Regions from separate parts of the Homo sapiens genome. Here region 2 is linked to region 1. Evidence: promoter capture Hi-C in 16 types of primary human blood cells and fetal thymus (Javierre and others, 2016). All regions are on one chromosome and are shown on one strand. The core of a region is centred on a gene start or on the middle of the fragment in contact, and the rest is flanking DNA. Distances in the headings are between cores, read along the strand shown.

Region 1 (3,709 bases), core at 692-3,191:
ACAAATAGTTGGGAGAATGGACAGAATCTGTTGTTCTTTATGTATGTATTTTATTTAAATTGCAAATAACCTCAAGTTTTTAGTGGTGTATAATAATAGATATTTATTTTTTCTCAGTCACTAGCTTGTGATTCAGCAGGGGTTCTGCCAGAGTTCAGAAAGATTTAACTCCAGGCTGACCATCAGAAACTTGAATACTGGTACTGCCACAGATGTGGGAGAAAAGTTTCCTTATTTTGAACATCATTAGCAACTTCTGATACAAAGTCCTTGGTAAAAGAGTTTTACTTGAGGCTAGAACTTTAGCTGCAAGGGAGACTGGAAACATGAGTTTCTGATATTTTCATCTTATTTAGTGGGAGGTTGATTCTGCATCCAAGATTCATAAGGTGGATGTATCATTTAGTTTGGGTAGGATTATGCCATGTAACAAACAATCCAGCACCCAAATCTCCATAGTTAAAATAATAAATATTTATTTTTTTCCTTATACAACACAGTAGTTGTAGATTATCAGTGAGGCCTTGGTTCATCATAATCTGTCTAGAACCTGGATGGTAGAGCAGCTATCATCTCAAGCAGTGCTTTACACTGTGCCAGAGACAGAAACTTTGGTGAGCTGGCATTAAAAATTACCAACTGGCCATGACAAATCTCACTTCTAATTACATTTTATCAGCCAAAGCAAATCAAATAGCCATACATAATTCTAAGGAGGGTGGAAAGTATAATCCTGTCATGTCCTAAGGAAGATGCTACAAGTATTTGGTGTTCTGAACTAATGCAACCATGATGAGAAATTTCTCAAACATGGAAAGAGAGTTGAGATGCTGGGCAACCAAAAAACAAGATAACAAATATCCACTAGAGACTGTCTTATTTATATCTTTTCTATAACAAATATCCACTAGAGACTGTCTTATTTATATCTTTTCTATGTATCACCATGCTCAGTCTAGCTCAGTAGCTATTAGTGACTTAGTAGATGCTGAATGAATGTTTGTTGAATAAAAAAAGAATGATTGTTTAATTTACCAAATCTTACTATAACTGAAGCTTAAAGAGAGTTACTTTGCTATTTTAACTCCACACTATGAAGCAAGATAAATATAAGTGACATTTGTATGCAACGTTGCACTTGAAAACCAGAGTGGTACAGTGGAAACCAAGAGAAAAAAGATGTTTCATTTCAATATTATTTTCAATGTGTTCACTTATTGGTTTCTCCCCACAGCAAGGATACTGTCTCCTGTGCTTAGTAAAGTTTGGGAGGGTAGGTATTCGATAAAAGCAGTTCTGCTATCATTAGCTGTGTAGTCTTGGGGAAGTGATATCAATGTAGCCATAGGTTAAGGTTATTCAGCTGTGCCTGAGCACGCGCGTACACACATCTTAGTAATATTCGTCTTTGTATTGTAAAGATCTCCAAGACTGGAAAGCAATACAATTGTAATACAGTTGTACAGTTGTGATTGTCATGTGACATATTTACAGCCTAGTGTCTATCACAAAGCATCCATTCAAGGGAGGTTTATTGATTTTGTAGTAGTAACCATGCTCTATTCTTGATGTGGAGTGGGATGGATATCTAAGAAAGCATGTAATGCATTTGAAAAAGTTTGCCAAGGGTCCTGGGTAAAGGGGTTTTGGTGACGTGGTTCCCAACGAATCAAGAATAATAAACAATGCCCTTCGTCCTCAAATCTCAAAGGTCAAATACTTCACAACTACCAATAGGCACCAAGAGCTCGCGTTCTTTCCTCCAGTAACCAGAGCCCCGCCCGCTAGCGGTCCGTCAACGACCGCAAAGCCCCGCCTCCTACGGCGGCCCGCCAATCGGCTGCGCGGCCCGGGCCCAACCCTCGTGAGTCACGTGACAAGGCCAGGCCCGCTTCCGGCACGTCGCGGGCGGCTGACGTCGCCGGGGCCCGGCGTCGCGTCAGGGCTGGCCGGCGGCGGAGGCGGCGGCGGCGGCGGCGATGGCAGCGGACCCTGAGCGAGCTTGAGGGCTCGGACCCAGCTCCCTCCCGCGAAACCTTGGGCGGATCCGGCGCTGCGGCCCCAGCTCGCTCCGCTCCTGCTCCCTCCCCGGCCGCTGCCTGGGCGGAGGCAGAGGCAGAGGCCCGGGCTGGCCGCCCTGCTCGTGCCCCAGCTCGGCCCCGGACGGCCCGGCTGCTGTGCAGAGAGGAGGCCGAGTCGGTAAGAGGCGGCGGCGGCTGAGCCGGCAGGCCGCCTGGCCCCCGCCGGGCCGCCCGGGACGCCCCCATTCTGGTGTCTCTCTTTCCGGCCCGCTCCCCTCCCGCCTCCCTCCCCGTAACTCGCCGGCCCTATTGTCTGGGCGCCGCAGCTCCCTCTTCCCCTCCCTTCCTTACCCCCCTGCGGAGGGCCGGATGGCTGTCAAACCTGGAGGCTTCTCCAGCTCCCTGCCAGCCCTGTCAGCCTTTCCTGCCTGTCTCGTGCCACCCCCTCTCTGTCTGGCCTCACCTCCTCACCTTTTTTGGCCTGGCGGTCATTCTCTGACCATTGCTTTACATTGTCGGTCTCTATGTCTTCTTGCTCATTTCTTCTTCCCTCTAACTTGTCATCTCCGAAAACTTCCACTGTCCTATTTCTTGCCATTCTTTGCTCCTTTCCTTACTGTTTTTACTCCTCTCCGTGCTTTCTGCCTTGTTTTTGCTTCAAGTTTTACTCCCAGTAGACTGTCTTACTTTATGAAAGTTCCTTAATTCAAATCCCTCTTCATCCTTCCCTCTTCGAACCTAAGACAAAGGAAAATCTTGTTTTTTTTCTGGTACTTCATCCCTAAGTGTCACTGGGGGATTATACTCATTCAATCCATCACTTAATTATGGGCTCTAAGTTTGATTCTAGATGTTAGTGTACCTTGTGAACTATCCCTTACTGAATTCTTCCTGTGACAGACAGCAGAAAAGGTTGATTCGATTTCTACACAAACATTTAAGTAACTGCCTTACGTGTTGCGCACTGACAAGACCTCTATTAAAAATATTCATACATTTGTTCTTTTGCACCAGCTACACCCTGGGCAAGCTCCCTGTTAACTTTTTAATGCTCTAATATTTGCTTATACCATAGCAGGAGGATACCCACTCTCCCCCTCCAACCATGGGTATTTGAGTTCGCATATTTTCATGGCCAGTATTGATGCTATTTTTTCCCTTACCTATCAGACTCTTTCAAAGAGAAAAGAGGGAGCAGTTGGAATTTTATGTTTGTTGTTCTATTTTGTCTATTATGAATTGTGACAAAACCATTATAAAAGATGACAAGTGTGTGTGTTTCTTTTTTTCTTTTTAAACTGTAGGGAACATAGTCATTAGTGATCTCAAATACCGAAAGACATTTTACGGATCTCTCCTCGCCCCTGATAACAATCAATTTACATTCTTAATTATGAGTTATGTTTTGATTAGGTTATCTCAAAATGTATTCATATTCCTCACATACCCATTAGTGAAAAAGAGGCCACCTCAAGTGTGCTCGGTGGCCACTGTGGCCCAAAATATAGTACTTTGCATGTGAATGACCTAGGGATACATAGGTACTCCTTTGCAGTTTTTGTTCTAGCATTACAACCACTTTTATTATCAATGTGGACACTGTCTAAATTGAAATATAGTAGAAATACTCAGTTAACAAAAGCATGTTATTATTGCTTGTTGAATGTAAAGTATAAGAAAGCAGTCTC
Region 2 (4,014 bases), core at 226-2,725, 450 kb after region 1:
CTATAAAGGAACTCCTGCACTCCCTTTGCTGAAGTTCCACCAAACACTCAGCCCTGCCCTGTGCACTCTCACACCTCCCTGCCTTTGCCTTTGTGCCTCTGTTCCTCCTCCATGCTGGGAGCCATCCCCGGGATTGGGGCATGGTCCACATGGAGCCCCTATAAAGGCAGCTGGGCCAGCCAGGGGCACCAAGGCCACTGGGCCTGACCGGCCACCTGTGTTTGCAGAGGTGGTCGGTGTGGGCTGCGTCCTGGATGGGGTGCGCTACAACAACGGCCAGTCCTTCCAGCCTAACTGCAAGTACAACTGCACGTGCATCGACGGCGCGGTGGGCTGCACACCACTGTGCCTCCGAGTGCGCCCCCCGCGTCTCTGGTGCCCCCACCCGCGGCGCGTGAGCATACCTGGCCACTGCTGTGAGCAGTGGGTATGTGAGGACGACGCCAAGAGGCCACGCAAGACCGCACCCCGTGACACAGGAGCCTTCGGTGGGTGTGGGCCCGAGTGGGCTGGGGGTGGGACCCTACAAATGGGTTGTGGACCCTCCTGGAACTCTGACCACCATAGAATGACTCATTCCCCAGTCCACTACCTACTAGCTTTGTGACCTTGAGAAAGTCATACCTCCCCTGAGACCCTATTTCCCCATCTGTAAAACAGAAATAATCCCATCTGTCTAGTCTGTCCTGTGGGATCCTCCCAGCATAAAATGAGGAGTGCTTTGTAAAGAACAAAGCCCTAAAAGTGCAATCCATTATTATCCTACTAAAGAGTTAGGGATGGGTGGTGGAAGAAGGGTAGGTATGTGGGTACCTGAGGAGAGGAGGTATGAGCAAGAGGAGATGGGTCTAGTAGAAGCTTCATGATGATTTGGGGCTTCCCCCTTGCTATGAAGATGGGTGGGCAGGTGAGATTTCAGCCAGGTAAACCAGATAAGAGGAAGCCCTGGAAAAGAAGAGTGGGGACAGGCCCAATTGTTTCACTGCTGCTTACTGGAATCTAGCCCAGTGCCATACACTTAGCAGGTATCCAATTAATGTTTGTCATACTGATGGGTGGGCAGATGGATGGATGAAGAATAGATAGATGGGCGGGTGGATGGATGGATGGATGGATTGGTGAAGAGATGGATGGATAAATAGATGAATGTATAAATAGATGAGTGGATGGATAGATGACGGATGAATAGGTGGATGATGGATGGATGGAAGGATGATGAATGAATGGGTGGATTAATAGATGGATGGATAAATGGATGTATGAATAGATGGGTGGATTGATGAGTGGATAGATGAATTGATGGATAGGTGTATAAATAGATAGATGGGTGAGTAGATGGGTGGATAGATGAATAGACAGATGAATGTATGAATGGATGGATGGATGGATATATGTATAAATAACTAGATGAGTGGACAGGTGGATGGATGAATGGATGGATGGATGAATTGATAAATGGACAGATGGATGAATAGATAGATGGATTTATAAAAAATTGGATGATTGGATGGATAGATGATGGACAAATAGGTGAATGATGGATGGGTCAATTAATGGATGGATGGAGGATGGATGGATGGATGGATGGATAGATGTATAAATAAGTAGACGAGGGGACAGATGGATGGATGAATGGATGGATGGATGGATGAATGGATGAACTGAATGGATGGGTGGATGAATAGGTAGATAGATGTATAAATAAATGGATGATTGGATGGATAGATGACGGACAAATAGGTGAATGATGGATGGATCAATTAATGGATGGATGGATGGAGGATGGATGGATGGATGAATGGGTGGGTAGGTGGATAGATGGATGGGCTAATGAGGATCTGAACTAGGGCAGTGGGAGTAGAGGCAGTGAAGAAGGAACAGACACAAGAGGCATTGCTTGAGTAAGACTGAAGGTCTTAATGTCAATCTAATGCATGGGGTGAAGAAGAAAGAGGGACAGAGGCTGACTCCCAGGGCTTGTCATTGCCTAGGATCAAATACAAGAGAAGGAGCACATTTGGGCCAAGGGAGATCTACTCTGTTTGAAACAGACTGAGTTTAAGGCAGAGTGCCCTGCCCACGGGATCTTAAGAGAAGCTTCCAGTTTCTCTTTATGGGGAGGAAGGAGACGAAATAGGAGAGCTCTGAAGTCATCTGCTTGGAGCTGCTGGTGGTGATGGCTGGGATGGCCTGAGGGTAACATCCACAGTGAGACAGAGGGGGCCTGAGGCAGAGGTCTGGGAATGCTGACATGTGAAGGGTGAGCAGAATAAGAGGAGGCATGGGGAAACAGAGAGGAGGGTTGGGATGTATGAAGAAAACCAGGAGCATCTGATGCCATGGCAGGCAGCAGATGAGGACATTTCTAGAGGAAAGTGCTTACGAGGCAAGCAGTAGAGAGCAGTAGAAAAATGGCAATAGAGTGGGAGTTCTAAGAGTATTGGTAGTTTTTTTAAAAAAAATTATATATGCTAAAGATTGCTCAGGGACGGTGTGGGGCAGGTTTCTCAAGCTCGGCACTGTCAACATCTTGGATGAAGGAATTCTTTGTGGTGGGGTTGTCATGTGCACTGGAGGATGTTTAGTAGCAATCTAATGCATGACTACTAAATCCCAGCAATCTAATCCCTGGCCTCTACCCACTAGATGCCAGAAGCGCCCGCTCCCTCAGAGATGTGACAACCAAAATCATCTCCAGACCTTTCCAAATACACCCTAGGAGACAAAATTGCTCGGTGGAGAAGCAGTCCTGTGAGGATAGGAGGAGGCGTGGAGGAAAGCTTTGTCCCCAGCAGCCCCAGGGCAGCAAGGCAGCTCTCCCACCACCACCTCCCCAGGAGGGCCACACGAGGGTCACGGGGGGAGCAGGGAGGCAGAAGCTGTCTGCCATTGTGTCTGGCCCAGTGACCCTGTTCTGACCGAGCACAAGCGGAGCCCCTGCCTAGCCGAGGTGACCCAAAAACCAAAGCCTCTTTATCCTCCTGGGCAATTCCCTCCCCACCACCTCCCAAGATGCTTGCAGCTCCAGCTCCTGTCAGCCCTGCCCCTCCTGTCCTTGGATGCCTCCCATTTCAGGTCTTTCCCTCTCTCACTCAGTGATTCCTGCATTCATTCATCAATGTTCCCAGCACACCTATAAGCTTAGAGGAACTGACTTACCTTTCCTCTTTATCCTTCTAATCCTAGTTAGATTTCTCTTCTTTTCTGTGTTTATCTTTTTGCCTCTCTTTCCCTCCCTTCATTCTTTTTATTACTTTTATTACCTTCCTCCTGTTTCTTTCTCTCTCTCACACACACACACGCTTTTTCTCTCTCCTCCTCTCCTTCTTTCTCTCTCTTTTCTCTGAGCTTCCATCTGTCTTTCCATCCCTTCCCTGTCTGCCTGTTCCCTCCTCTCCTCATGCACATGTGTGTTTGGATGGGACAGGCCTCCTCTCCACTGCATCTTGTTCCATCTTTCTGTGGGCAGTTCTGTCTTAACAGCTTTTAACCTGCTTTGGTCTCGAGCTCACCACCATTTTCCGTTTTTCAGATAGTTAGAGAGCACTTACTATCTTCTAGATGCGGGAGATACATGCATCAATAGGAACATCCAAGAGTGGGTAGTTGAGTTGGCTGACAGTCAAATGACCACACAGACTCACATTAACTAAGGGCTTTAGCTTACTAAAGGCCAGGGACAGCCTGGGTGCTTTCATAGGCGTGAAGTCATCTTTTCTATCATGGCACTAGAAAGAGATGCTATAGCCAACCCCATGTGCAGGTGGGGATCCTGAGGCAAGGAGGTGTGAGCTAGCTTATTGGAAGTTACATAGCCAGCAAGTAGCAGTGCTGCCAGTTGAACCCTGGTGATTTGAATTTGAAGCCCGTAAGTCCTTTTTTTTTTTTTTTTTTTTTTTTTTTTTGAGACAGAATCCTGCTTTTTAGACCAGGCTGGAGTGCACGGGCACGATCTTGGCTCACTGCAACCTCTACCTCCCAGATCAAGCAATTCTTGTGACTAAACCTCCTGAG

The links. Contacts are between HindIII fragments. The CHiCAGO score rates a contact against its expected background, and 5 or more counts as called.
Region 2: a fragment that was not itself captured here is called in contact with the fragment with the promoter of PHF20L1 in region 1 in 1 of 17 cell types (fetal thymus); the score reaches 6.6 in fetal thymus.

The regions. Positions count from the first base shown.
Region 1 is chr8:132,773,447-132,777,155 of GRCh38, forward strand. It overlaps PHF20L1 (PHD finger protein 20 like 1), which reads left to right and starts at 1,942. Exons shown (of 21, transcript NM_016018.5): 1 at 1,942-2,199. It also overlaps a transcript of TMEM71 not described here. RefSeq lists an enhancer at 1,671-2,172 and a silencer at 1,927-2,376. The HindIII fragment of the contact is 4,916 bases long and covers 1,055-3,709 here.
Region 2 is chr8:133,220,354-133,224,367 of GRCh38, forward strand. It overlaps CCN4 (cellular communication network factor 4), which reads left to right. Exons shown (of 5, transcript NM_003882.4): 3 at 228-488. Among named protein-coding and RNA genes, the nearest start is that of CCN4, 31 kb to the left of the region's middle. RefSeq lists an enhancer at 2,385-2,886. The HindIII fragment of the contact is 1,239 bases long and covers 857-2,095 here.